Regions from separate parts of the Homo sapiens genome. Here region 2 is linked to region 1. The links are contacts of gene promoters, found by promoter capture Hi-C in human tissues and cell types (Jung and others, 2019). All regions are on one chromosome and are shown on one strand. Each heading gives the region's core, a stretch centred on a gene start or on the middle of the fragment in contact. The rest is flanking DNA. Distances are from core to core; before and after follow the strand shown. Region 1 holds the start of KCNH2 (potassium voltage-gated channel subfamily H member 2). Region 2 overlaps GBX1 (gastrulation brain homeobox 1).

The links. Contacts are between HindIII fragments. The study calls those that stand out against the background at their distance.
Region 2: a contact is called between a fragment that was not itself captured here and the fragment with the promoter of KCNH2 in region 1, in 2 of the 25 tissues and cell types used here (H1 embryonic stem cells and spleen).

What each region holds. Positions count from the first base shown.
Region 1 is chr7:150,975,750-150,982,305 of GRCh38, forward strand. KCNH2 (potassium voltage-gated channel subfamily H member 2) reads right to left here and starts at 2,572. Exons shown (of 15, transcript NM_000238.4): 1 at 2,089-2,572. The coding sequence starts at 2,164. It overlaps LOC124901776 (a long non-coding RNA gene), which reads left to right. Exons shown (of 3, transcript XR_007060592.1): 2 at 787-962; 3 at 1,096-1,606. RefSeq lists an enhancer at 1-870 and a silencer at 3,240-3,589. The HindIII fragment of the contact is 28,056 bases long and covers 1-6,556 here.
Region 2 is chr7:151,147,614-151,154,169 of GRCh38, forward strand. It overlaps GBX1 (gastrulation brain homeobox 1), which reads right to left. Exons shown (of 2, transcript NM_001098834.3): 2 at 396-1,529. The coding sequence ends at 976. Among named protein-coding and RNA genes, the nearest start is that of GBX1, 17 kb to the right of the region's middle. The HindIII fragment of the contact is 8,938 bases long and covers 1-6,556 here.

The DNA of each region.
Region 1 (6,556 bases), core at 1,322-3,821:
AGAAGAATAAGCTGAGGGTCACAGGCAGAAGCCCAAGGTCATAGGAAGCAAAGAGAGGGACCTGCAGCTCCAAACCCTGGACACACCTGGAGCCTGGGCGGGGCCTGAGACTTTGGCCCCACTTGTAGGAAAACAGACCCAAGAAAGGGGACCTGCCCAGGGATGTGAGGCCTTCCTCAGTTTGGCCTCATCCTGGATGAGCACCCCCATGGTTCCATTTCTGCCAGACTTGGCTCCCTGACTCCAGGCCTGCCCGGAGAGCCAGGCTGGCGAGTGAGCAGCAGGCAGGCAGCAGCCTCACTTGTGCCAGGCAAGATGCTCCTGGGATAAGAGCTTTTTATAAACAGAAGTTTCCGGCCACTTTGGCCTGTAATGCTGGGGCTTTCAGTAGCAGTTGGAATTCTCCCCCTCCCTTCCCCTCCCCTCCCCAGCAAGCATAGCCCTCAGGTTGCAGCCCTAGGCAATCCTACGTGCAAAGCTGGGCTGCAGCAGGGCACCCTGAGATAGGCCCAGGCCATCAGGACTTGGCCTCCTCCCACCTTTCTCGATTCTCCCTTCCCCTGGCCCCCAGAAAGTTGCCTTTTGGAACTGGTTCATCTTTTGGCCAGTTCCCAAGGCCCCCCAGACCTCCCAGGCAGCCATCAATTCCAGGAGTCAGGGTTTCCTGTCACCTGAAAAGACCCCCTAACTCGGCCTCCAGCTCTGCCACAGTCCAAGGCAGTCCAGAGGCCCAGCCACACACCCCAGCTTCATAGAAGAAAAACCACCCCTTGTCCTCTCTCCCAGGCTGGGGAAAGAAGAGCAAGTTTCTTCGAAGGCATGCCCCACCCCACCACACACCCTTCACTGAGATCCTGGAATACAGGGATGGGACAGAAAGCCTGCCCCTCCTCCACAGACCTGGAACCTGAGACCCAAAGAGGGAAGAGTCACTCAAGGTCACATGGCAGTCAGTGGCAAAGGTAGGGCTAGAATCCAGCACCCCCCCCCACATCCATCCCAGCCTCCTCGTAGGCCCGCCCACAGCCTCCCCCTGGGCCCACCCCCACCTCTCAGGGAGGCCCTCAACCAGTGTCATTGTCTCCACCCCCTCAGGATCATCTTGTTCCTCCGCTTCACACAATACTGACCATCGGACTGACCCCTCCTTCCCCCAACCACCGTTACAAGCACGCGTTGTCCTGTGCTCACAGGGTCATGGACAAGGAATGTCATCCTCTCCCAACTCCCAGGGCCCTTGGCAGTCACACCCACTGTGGCTCATGCAGCCTTAGGGACAGGCACATGAATGCTGCCCACCCCCAGGACATTTGCCTAATCTGGGACCCTTCTAGAAGCCTCCCTACCAGGCAGGCATTAGGGGTGCTGTACTCCCGGTCCCCATAAGGGAATTAGGTGACAGTCTCCAGGGCAAGAAAACCCACAACTTGGGGGTACCACAGGGAGCTGCTTACCCTCAAAGCCCAGCTCTAGCCCCAGGACACCCTGTCTCCACAGAGCCCACAAGCTCGCAGCCTTGTCAAAGACACCTCCCCACCGCCCATACAGGGTCTAACTCACGGGTGACACATGGGCTCAGGGTTATATACACACGGCACACACAAGAAGAGATTATGAGCTGACCCTGCATCCACGGCTTTTCAGTCCCTCCGGCACAACACAGTCAAGATCTGGCAAGACCAGTGTGCGCGCTGGACTCTCGGGATCCCAGGGTTTGGGTCGTACACACTCTTATGCCCTTGCACACAGCCCCATCCACGTCCACGCACCCAGAGTTGGGGACACCTGCACACTCCATCCCACATCCCTTCCCTGCACACTCAGCGTGTCACACACACTCCGATCCCAAAAGCCTGAGCTGAGTTTCCCGCCCCAAGCCCCAACCCCAAACCCTTTGGCCCGGTGCCCACGGCCCCGGTGCACCAAGCCTTGCCCCCGCCGTCCCCTCGCCAAAGCCTGGGGCCCACCAGGCCCCATTGACTCGCACTTGCCGACGCACACGGCCCGGGCACGCCCCCCCATCCACACTCGGAAGAGCTCGGCCCGCCCCCAGAGCCCCCTCCCCGCTCAGCCCCCTCCCCCACTCACTCTGGCCCTCAAACTTGCGGATGATGGTGTCCAGGAAGGTGTTCTGCGGCGCGACGTGGCCCCTCCGCACCGGCATCCTGAGCCCATGGGCGGGCCGGGCGGGCCCCCACCCACCCCGGCCCGGCCCGGCCCAGCACTAGGCTTCGGGTGGCCCGGCCGGGCCGTGGTCCCCGCACCCCGCGGCCAAGCCGAGCACGGGCGCGGCCAAGACTGGACTGCGGGCGCCGGGTCCTCGCTCGGCTCCCGGCTCCCCGCTCCGGACCCCGGGCCCGGCCTGGAGCCGCCTGAGCGCGAGCCGCCCGCCGCCGGCACACCTGTCTGCCGGCCCCCGCCGAGCCGCGGGGCCCGCTCCGCCGCGTCCCCGCGCTGCGCTCCGCCCGCCCGAGCCCCGGACTCCTGGCTCCCGCCTGCCACCGCGCCGACAGCCGCTCCAGCGCCCGCGGCTCGGGCAGCGCCTGCGGCTCGGCCCGGCCGCGGAAGGGTTAATGCGGCGCGCGCCCCTCCGGCTCCGGCCCCCGCCTCCCGGCCCCCTCCCGCCTGCCGCGCGCCCGCAGCACCGCCCTCTCCCCCCCCCATCCCGCCCCACCGCGCGCGCCCGACCTTCCCATTGGCTGAGCCGCGCCGAGTGCTCCCCCAACGCCAGCCCCTCGCTCTGCCAAGGAGCCCCTGGGACTCGCGCGCCCAGAAGAGGGGGAAGGGACCCTTAGGCAGGGGAAACCGTGAGGACAGGTGCCATGGCCGGCTTGTAGGCGGCCGGGATGGGGGAAGGGATTCCACCCCCACCCCAGATTAGCGACTAAGAAACCTGATTTGAAGGGAAACGGCGGGTCCTTATGCCCTGGTTCCCCACCACGCCGAGCACTGGCTTGGTATACACAGCACGCGCTCAGTGCCTACTGTGGGTGACCGGGGCAACGCCTGGACCCTCGAAGACGAGCCCGGAGTCAAGGGAGACCCTGGAAATAGGAAAAGCAAGACAATCTGAAGGCCCCAGAGCAGCAGAGCTCTGAAATAAGGGAGGGTTAAACTTAGAAGGGGCACGCCCCCTGCCCCAACACACACACACACACACACACACACACACACACACACATACACACACACACACACACACACACACACACACACATACACACACACACACGGAGAGAGAGAGAGCCCTCTGTGGGGCTCTGCATAGGAGCTGCACAGAGAGGGACATTCTGACAGCAGTTGCGGCCTCCTAGCTGCAGGATCAAAGAGAGGTCCCTGAGCGCGAGGTTCCAACCAGGGGATCCCCGGGTGCGAGCGGCCCGCCCTCCCCCGGCAGCCCGGGGCCAGCCTTGCACGCCCAATCGGCGGGCTCGGGGCCCTGCGGCGGCGGCCACGGCCCAGCCCCTCGGAAAGCCCTGGCCTAGCCGCAGGCCCCTCCCCCCGGCCAGCTGGCTCGCTCCAGCTGCGGCTCCCTTATTTAGGCAAGGAGGCCTAGGGATGCTCAAGGGCAGGCGGGGTGTCTGCCCCGCCGCCTGCTCATCGCCTGCTTGCGTCTGAGTGAGGGTCTCCGGGCGCGGTGTCCTCGGACTTAGCAGTCAGGCAGGGCCCCGGGAAGGCCAGGGCGGGGAGGCGAGTGTTGACAGCTGAGTGGGCGGGCGGGGAGGGAGGAGTCGCAGCTGAACAGCCGAGGGTCCCCTCCCTGCAGCCGGATCAGAGACCTGTCTAGATGGATGGGGCCATGTGGGGGCTCCTGAGGGCTTGCAGCTGCCTCTGTCCTTGGAGCAGGGGCTGGGTCTTGTCACCAGCGAGAACCATCATGGGGGGAGGGGAAGAACAAAGGGCAGGGAAGGAATCGGAGTCCCGAAGGAGGAAGGCGCAGAAAACTGTCGTCGTGAGACCACCCTACCCGGACTCTCACCTTCCACCCAGGAGCACAAAGATGCAAACACTGGGGCCAAATGGGGCCACTGGCCAGCAGATGACACTCTTTTTTATTTGCTGGTGGGTGGGCAGTGACTCAGGGAGGCAGCCAGTGGGAGAGAAGGAGGTGGCTCCACAGCTGATGCTAAAAAAGTCCAGAGGCTCTTGCCTGTGCAGTTATTCCTCAGGCCCTCTCCACTGCCAGCAGTTTCCTCACTCACCCCCCCGGGGGCCCAGGGCCTTCCACAGCACAAGCTCCTCCTTGGTGTAGCATTTGGCATCAGGTGCATCAACACATCTGGGTTCCGGGTAGAACCTAGTCCACGACTGGCCCAGCCCCCGCCACGCCCCAAGGCCACCCCTGGCTGCTGGGTTGCCTACCATGAATCCAGGATGATTCATGTGTGAGTGAAGTGTCCTCCTGTCCAGGCCAGGGGATGGAGAGAAAGTGAGCAAAGGCCAGCAGCTGAGAATGGGCATGGGAGGGCAAGAAGGGAAAGGGACATCTGTAGCCTCCCCCTCTCTCCAGACCAAGGGAGAGGGAGAGCCAGGCCCTGAAGGGAAGGAGCCACTCATCTGAGCTGGCCAGCTGTCCTCCACTCCTGTACCCGTGTTGCTGGGACAGGCCTCTGCTCTTATCCCAAAGGGAAGACAGGAGTCAGAGGAGCCCTTCATCCTCCCAAACAGAGAGGAGCCCAGGCACGGGGTAGCCCTCCTTCTGTGCACAGAGGCAAGAAGAGAGCTGTTCCCTCAAGCTGAGGAGAGACAGATCTCTCCCTCTCTCCCCCCAGCCCACTCCACATACTCAGAAGTCAAAGCTGAATGTAGATTTCTGACTTCCTTGGAGGCTCAGGGTAGAGCCTGAAGGCAGACCCACTTAGCCGCCCCCACACTCAAGAATTGAGCTGAGGAAGAGAAACGGTGAGAGGGGGCAAGCTCTCCCCAAAGCAACATTTCTGGGCCTCAGATGAGCTGATGGAGAAGCCCCCACTGCCTTCAACTTCCCACCTCTGCTACCCCCAGATCTGGGACAAAGAGAAAAGTGCCCAACCCTAATACCAAGAGCTGGGCTGTTAAGCCTCTAGAATCTGCCCCACCCCCATCTCAGCTCCAAGAGCCATTTCAGAGACCATTCCTGGGAAGAGCTCTCCCGCACCCTGCCTGTGACTGAGGGAACAGAGAGGCTACAGTGAGATATCCAGGCTCCTCCCAGCTCCCAAAAAGAAACAATTTAGGGAGAAAAGTCTGCAGAAAGCATCCTACCCACCCTGCTCTCTGCTCCTGCTCAGTCCGAAGGCATGGAGCCAGGACATCCTGGAAGGAGAAAGAGAAATGGAAGCCCACTCTGCCAGAGGTCCCCCAAGGAGCGGGCCAGGCAAGACACCACCAAAGTCAGGCCCAGGAGAGCCTGGGGTTACCCACAGGGGATTGGGAAGCAGTTCCAGTCGGCTGGGCACAGGAGAGACAGGTTACAGAGCAATGGTTCCTGGGAAACCCTGGGGAAGGAAGAACAGAGTGAGCAGGTCCCTTGATGCTTGAACACGGTGGGTTTTTTTTGTTTTTCTGTGCAACTGGGTCCCCAGAATAGAGATTTTTTTCAGATGTGAACTGGAGTTGGAGAAGAAAAGAATCAAAGAAACAGCATGTTTCCCCTCCAGAAGTGGATGATCAGGGCTTATTGATAGAAAGAAGGGAAGTAGGAAGGAAAGAAAGAAGGAAGAAAGGATGGAAGGAACCCGCCTGAAACCCCTAGCCAAGAGCCAGGACACTCTTCACTCATCGCCCTCTGCAGCTCCACATGTAGCAATCCTGCCAACCCCTGGTCCATTCCAAGGTCTTCTCTGGACAACCTGATCCCCACCTTTGGTGGGACATTTTCCCTGCCTTTGTGGTGTCAAAAGAAGCAAGTAAGGCCCTGGAGACTAGGATTCGGGAGATCTGACTTCTAATTCTGGTTCTGCTACTAGTTGCATCGACAAGTGTTTACTGGGGGCTTTCTAAGTACTGGGCCCTGTGCCAGACACTGCTGGGGGACAAGAGGGATAAGCCAGGATCCCTCCTCCAGGGATTCACAGTCTAGTGAGTTTTGAGGGAGACGGTGGGCAGACAGAAACTGCAGTCTGCAGTCAGTGCTGTGGGATTACGAGGAGGTGTTGGTTAATTTCAACCGGAGGAGTCTTGGAGGGCCTTGCCAGGGAAGGAGATTTCAGTGCAGGTCCTTGAACGTTGGAGGTGGGGCAGGGCAGAAGCATTGCAGATAGAAGAGACAACATAAGGATATATAAAGAAAGGAGAATGGAGATTGGGTCTGAGGACAAAATAATTTGATGTGGTGGCAGTGGAGCAGCAGGCTGGCACCATTTGCAGAGGGATGAGGACTATGAATTTTATTATCTCTGCAAGGGGGACACAGTAGTGGCAGGAAACAGTAAGGAAACAGTAGTGGCAGCTGAATGCAGAATCCATGAATGTAAATATTCTGTCTTTGTACAGACCCTGGCAAAGAGTAGGTATCCAAGAAAGGTTTGTTGATTGAATGAAACGTGTATAATAGTTTGGAGAAAATGAGGTGGAT
Region 2 (6,556 bases), core at 2,925-5,424, 170 kb after region 1:
CTTGCATCTGGAATATCAAAGGGTGGCAGAGACAGACTAAGCTGCCGTGTCTTCTGCATAGAAAACAATTTATTCATGAGCTCACGGGTGATATGAGTGCCCCAGTCATTAGTGACCTCCCCCTAAGTTAGATGGCTTGGACATACCCCACCTAAATGCAACAGGAAGTGAAGTGAATCTCTCCCAAAGTTTTCCAGCTCATCCAAGGAGGAGAAAACAGAGCTGGAGAAGCTTGCCTGTTTAATGGGAAGCAGGAAGAGATGGCACGTTAGGAGCCCGAGGTATAGAAACAAGAGCAAGCGGTGAGCAGCCCTAGTGGAAAAGCATGGGGGTAGAGGTAGTTAACGTGGGGTGGGGGAGATAGGGGAGTGCTGAAGAATTTCTACAGAGGCCAGTGACGGTTGCATTTCATTTCTTTGTAAAGAGAGGCAAGATGGGGCCTACCCCAAAGCAGTAGGACAGACGAACTCTGGCTGAGGATTGAGGAAACAACTTTCCCAATCCCTCTCAGGGGTGCAGACAGACGTACAGAGACAGATAGCTCCATATATACACATTTACACAAATAAATAAGGAGCTGCGATCTACTTGGCTAGGTATCGCCTGTTCCCTCCACCCATCAGAAGCTGTTCCAGGGCATTTGCCACAGAACCTTCAGGCCTTAGGCATCTTAGAACCCACCCCCTCCCCAGGAGTCCACCTCAGTCCCAACAGCTCCTCAGCAATAGAACCCCAGCCCCTTTAACCTTGAAGCCCCTAGTCCTGAAGTTCTCTGGAACAGGCTCAGGGCCAAGTGCTCACATCTCAGGTTCTGGGAGGAGTCTGGGAAGAGCACACCCAGGGCTAGGTTAATTGCCAACTAGCCCCTCTCAAGGCAGAATCACAGTTGCAGCCCCTCTGGTCCACAGAACCCTGACAGTCTCAGAGCAGGCTCAGGTACAGATCCCTCGCCTTCCTAAGTTCTTGGGTGCCCATTCAGGGCCGGGCCCCCTGCTCCATTTGTTGGTGCTGGCTCCGCACAGCAAACCTGTTGACATGCACAGGTATGGGGACAACAATCTTGGGGTTTCTTACGGGCTCCCCAGAACGGCTGCTCACATTGCCAGCTTTGATGCGCTTCCACTTGGCCCGTCGATTCTGAAACCAGATCTTGACCTGCACCTCACTGAGCTTGAGGGCGTGGGCGATCTGAGAGCGCTCTGTCAAGCTCAGGTATTTCTTGCAATGAAATTCCTTCTCCAATTCCAAAAGCTGCTCGCTGGTAAATGCTGTGCGGCGCCGTCGGCTTTTCCCCCCAGGAGCTGTGACCCCTGCTGTCACCGGTGCCCCCTCCTCAGCTCCAGTCCCCAGGCTTCCCTTTAGCTTCGGTTTAGGTCCCAGAAGAGCCCCTGGGCCCCCTGCAGAACTGTCCAGGAAACCGTCATCCTCGCTGTCACCGCCTGAGCCCTCTTCCTCCTGTTCGCTGCCTGCTGGGTCTCCTGCTGATGCCTCCAGCTTCTCCTCATCTGAGCTGTACACCTTCCCCTCTGCTGTGAGGAGCAAGAAGCCAATGGATGGGGAGGGAGAAGCAAGAAAAAGAGAGTTTGGAGGAGGCCCATGGAACCATGGCCAGAAATGGGGGGTTGGGAGACAAGAGCAGGAAAAAAGAGAGCCATGGAGAGGAGAAGATGGGGAGGGACAGGAGGCAGAAGGATGGTATGTCCAGGATATGGAATGGGAAGAGGTTTAGGGAAAACAAAGAAATGGGAAGAAAGGTATTAACCAGCACAGATTTCACTACGGAAAAGTGTGGGAGGCAATAAGTGTGTGGACAATGACCCCTCAACTTCCCCACCACCCCCATCTCATTCGCACCCACCACCTCCCCAGCTTTCTCGGAACCTAGAGACCAAGGGCCCAGCATCGCAGTGATATACCACCCCTCCAGAGCCAGGCCTCGCAGCCTCAGGTGCCAGAATGAAGCAGTATGGGACCCGGCTTGGGATCCTTCTGGAGCCACTGGGGGGAGGAGTGAAGCAATGCAGAAGAACTGACCTTGGCAGGACAGACGGGGAGAGAAGGGCTCAGCCTTTGCACTTCTCCTAGGAGTCCTCATCTGGCCCAGCTGACGAGAGCTGTCTCATGGCCTCTGTTCTGTCTCCTCCTCTCCCTCTTCCCTAGATCTGCAGTCCCTGAACCTCATTTCCATGGCTCCCAGCCATGCAGCACCTTGAGTGTGGCCAGATTTTTTCTCCCAGTTACTTAGGCCTCCTGATCCCCTTTCAATCCTTACCCTTGACCTTAAAATGAAACCATCTCTTTCCCACCTTCCCCTTTCCCCAGCCAAGGATGCCTGAGCAGCACAAACAGCTGTTTTCTGCTCAAGTTCAGAATCCTGAGGCCCCTAAGCTTGATGTCAGCTGGGAGGACTGGAAGGAATATGGGAGGAGGAGGAGGAAGAGGGAAAAGTGCAACAGGGACAAATGAAGAGAAGGAAAGGGTAAAAAAGAAATTTTGATTCAGTAGAATACTGATTATTTGTAATCACAAGCATATAAACATTTTAATCCACACAATTCTAAAACTTAATTCAACCATTGGTTTTAATCTTTGTATCCAATGATGTTTATATCAGAACTGCAAATAATGCATTACACATGTTTTCAGTGAGTTTTACAAACTCCGTTTTCTACTCAAAGGACCAAAAAGCAGTGAAACAAGTCAAAAGACAATCAATAGGCAGGAGAACAAGAGAAAATGGATAATCTGTAAGCTGAATAGTCAGCTCCTTTCCAGAAGTGTCCACTGTGCAAAGGCAGGAGGCCTGCATACCTATATGTAGGAATGCATCTCCCTGTATCGGCCACATATCAGATATGCCTGAGATAAGCAGACTCAGAGGTTGAGAATACAACTCCAAGTAAACTAAATTCAGGGCACGGGGAAAGGCTTTATTAGAGAAAGAGGGTGTGTGTGTTCACAGATAGAACATCTCCTGGCAGTCAGAGCTTCCTGGTGTTCTCCTTCAGCACACCCCGCCCCACCCCCTGCCAAGTTCCCTTCCCCCTCACAGGTGCAGTCTACACCTGGTCTTTTTCCTCAACAGCCACATTGACATTTTCTTTTCCTATCTTTCCTATCTTTCTTTCTTTTGAGACAGAGTGAGACTCTCACTCTGTCAGCAAGGCTGGAGTATAGTGCACAGTCTTGGCCCACTGCAGCCTTGACCTTCCAGGCTCAAGGGATCCTCCACCCTCAGCCTCCCAAGTAGCTGTGACCACAGGCACACACCATGCCTGGTTAATTCTGTTTATTTTTTTGTAGAGACAGGATCTCACTATGTTGCCCAGGCTGGCCTTGAGCTTCTGGGTTCATACAATCCTCTAGCCCTGGCCTCCCAAAGTGCCAGGATTACAGGTGTGAGCCACTGCGCCCAGCTGACATTTTCCTTAGTGGCCAGAACTCTCAACCTTTTTCCACATCACCCATCTACATCCCAATCAACTTCATACCTCGAAGGTGTTTTCATCCCTCTCCTTTTCTTTCTGGAGTGCTTCCTGTTTCTTCTAACCTTCTCAAAGTCCATGCGGCATGCCCCAGTTTGGGCTCCCCCAGTCTTCCCATGCCACTCCTGTACATTGCTTTTCACCAGCCAATGGCTTTTGTTCTTCTTTACTAGTTTGCTCAGGCTTCACTGGCGCCCAGCATCAAGACCCATCTGGGTAAGTACTGTATCCTGTCTGTAGCTAATTCGCCCCTCATAATGTCTCCCATCAGCCTGTTCTTTCCCCTCTATCTCACCCCTAGCCAAATCTATGTTGTTTTCTCTAAGATTCACATCCTTGGTTTCCTCCTTCATTTCATTAAGGTCTCTTCTCCCATTATTTTCCACTTCCACAGAACTCAAACTTAACATGCCCCAAATTGAACTCCAATCAGATCATTCCCCCAAACCAGCTCTTTCTCATCTTTATCCACATCATCCCCATCTCAGTTAATGGCAACTGCATCCTCTGTGTGTTCAAACCTAACCTCGATGCCATCTTTTTACTCCTCTCTCTCACAACCCACATCCAGTCCATCTACAAGCCCTGCTAGTGCTGCTGCCTTTAAAATACCCCCAGAGCCCAATCCTTTCTCCCTATCTCCCGCTTCCAACTAGTCCACATCACAATTATCTCTGACCTGGTTCACTGTCATCTTCTAACTGGTTTCCCAGCTTCTGTCCTCCACACTCCACCTGGCCCATGATTCCTCTTTCTGTCTGGAATACACTACTCTTCACCTAGATCTTGCACTAGCTTATTCCCTACCTCTTTCAGGTCTTTATCAGTGACACCTCCCCTGGTCATCCTTTTAAAATTTAAACCCTCTGATACTCTCTATGTCCTTTCTCCGATTTATTTGTTACTTTGGTCCATTTTACCAATTTTATTCATTTATTTTACTGGCTGTCTCTTCCTAATAGACTATAGCTTCGTGAAAGTAGGTATTCTGAATATTTCTCATTCACTGCAATATCTTCAGTGTCTTGAAAATGACCTGACACTCAATACAGAGTAGACACTCAATAAGCATCTGTTGACTAAATAAAAGAAACGATTTCCAAATGCTCATGCATGTGCTCCCCGTCTTTCTTTCCCTCCCTGTCCTTTCCTTTCCTAAGCCTCTCCGACGATATTCCCCACAACCCCACCCCGCCCAGCTCCAGTGCATAAGACATCTCCCTATGAATGTTATCCTTCCCACTTTTCAGAATGCCCTCAGATCTCACATTAGCTGGAGAGGAATTCATATGCAGTAGGAATCTATAGGATCTTAAAAATCTATAGGATGCTTAAAGAAATTAAGGACAATCCTAATACCATTAGTAAATCCTCTATTTTAATTTTTTAAAACATAGTTTGTAGTAAATAATAACAAAAAGAATAACAAAGGCTTGTACAAACTCAGCCCAATATTACAATATGTTAAACAGTGCTAAAAAGGCAGAAACTAGACTTCGAGGCTTGAAGGATAAAATCAGTTAGTACAACTCCAAGCACCCAGGGGGTGTCCAATAAATCTAAATTGATGATGATTGAGATGAGGCTCCCAGGTTCCCGATCTGGCAGGGCCCTCCTGAGATCGTATCATCCATCCCTCTGTCTTCAGACAGATCCATAAAATGAAGCCCACATGAGCCGGCCACCCTCAGTGCTGCTTTTAAAGCCATACAAGGAGCACAGGTTCACAACCTCTCTTGGTTACTTGATCCCAGTGGGATGCTGAGCGGCAGGGGCAAGAGTTTCTCTCTGAGCCTTTATAATCATGACATTGAAGACTCTGATAAGCAACTCTTGAAATGAAATGGGGTGGGACAATAGAAGAAAGCAACGAGAGGAGAAAATACAGCCACATGCCTCAGAGGAGAGTCTGGGACAATGAGGAAGACCGACAAGGAGTGGGAGAGAGAAGGAAAGGCCAAGGCAGGTGGAAAGAAGACTGGGGAAGGAAAGAAGTGGGGTAGAGAAATAGCAGAAAAATTAAATGATGAGTCAGATAAAATAAAAGGGCTGAAAAGTCTAGAGAAGGGAGAGAGAAAATATGGGAAAAATCAGGGGAAAGAAAGCAAAAGGTACTTTTTAAGAAATGCCTCATCTACCTTTCCCCCCAGAATACTGATACATTTGAAGCAAAGCAAAACATTTTGGCCCTGCCATTTGCTCTCTGCTGCCCCAAGAGAAGGAGCACTGTAGACTGCAGTAGCCAAAGACACAGGCAGAGAAAGAGAATGAGCAAAACAGTAGTGCAATCCTTTACAATGTGGAAATTTCAAAACAGCTAACTATTTTCTCTGGAATTAGCTAAGAAATAAAAATATTTCCTTTTATCCAATTTATAATGAATATTAATAGTAAAAAATAAAAATTGCACATAAAAATTTGCTATTGACTAAAAATTGAAAGAAGCAAATCTTTTTTTTTTTTTCCTGAGACAGGCGCTCGCTCTGTCACCCAGACTGGAATGCAGTAGAGTAATCATAGCTCACCGCAGCCTTGAACTCCTGGTCTCAAGTGATCCTCCTGCCTCAGCCTCCCAAGTAGCTGGGCCATAGGCGCACACCACCATGGCTGGCTAACTTTTTTATTTTTATTTTTTTTACTTTTTTGCAGTGTTGGGGTCCTACTATGTTGCCCAGGCTGGTCTCAAACTTCTGGACTCAAGCAAACCTCCCACCTCGGCTTCCCAAAGTGCTGGGATTACAGGTGTGAGCCACCATGGCTGGCAAGAAGCAAATCTTGTTGATAAAATTTCTATTTGCAAAATTTGATTTAGAATAACTGGACTTGGTAGATACAATGTTCATAAAAGTAAATTTCTGGCTGGGCATGGTGGTTCATGCCTGTAATCCCAGCACTTTGGGAGACTGAGGTGGGTGGATCACCTGAGGTCAGGAGTTCACCACCAGCCTGGCCAACATGGTGAAACCCTGTCTCTACTAAAAATACAAAAATTAGCCAGGGGTGTTGGCGTGCGCCTGTGATTCCAGCTACTTTTGAGGCTGAGGCAGGATTGCAGTGAGCAGAGAGCGCGC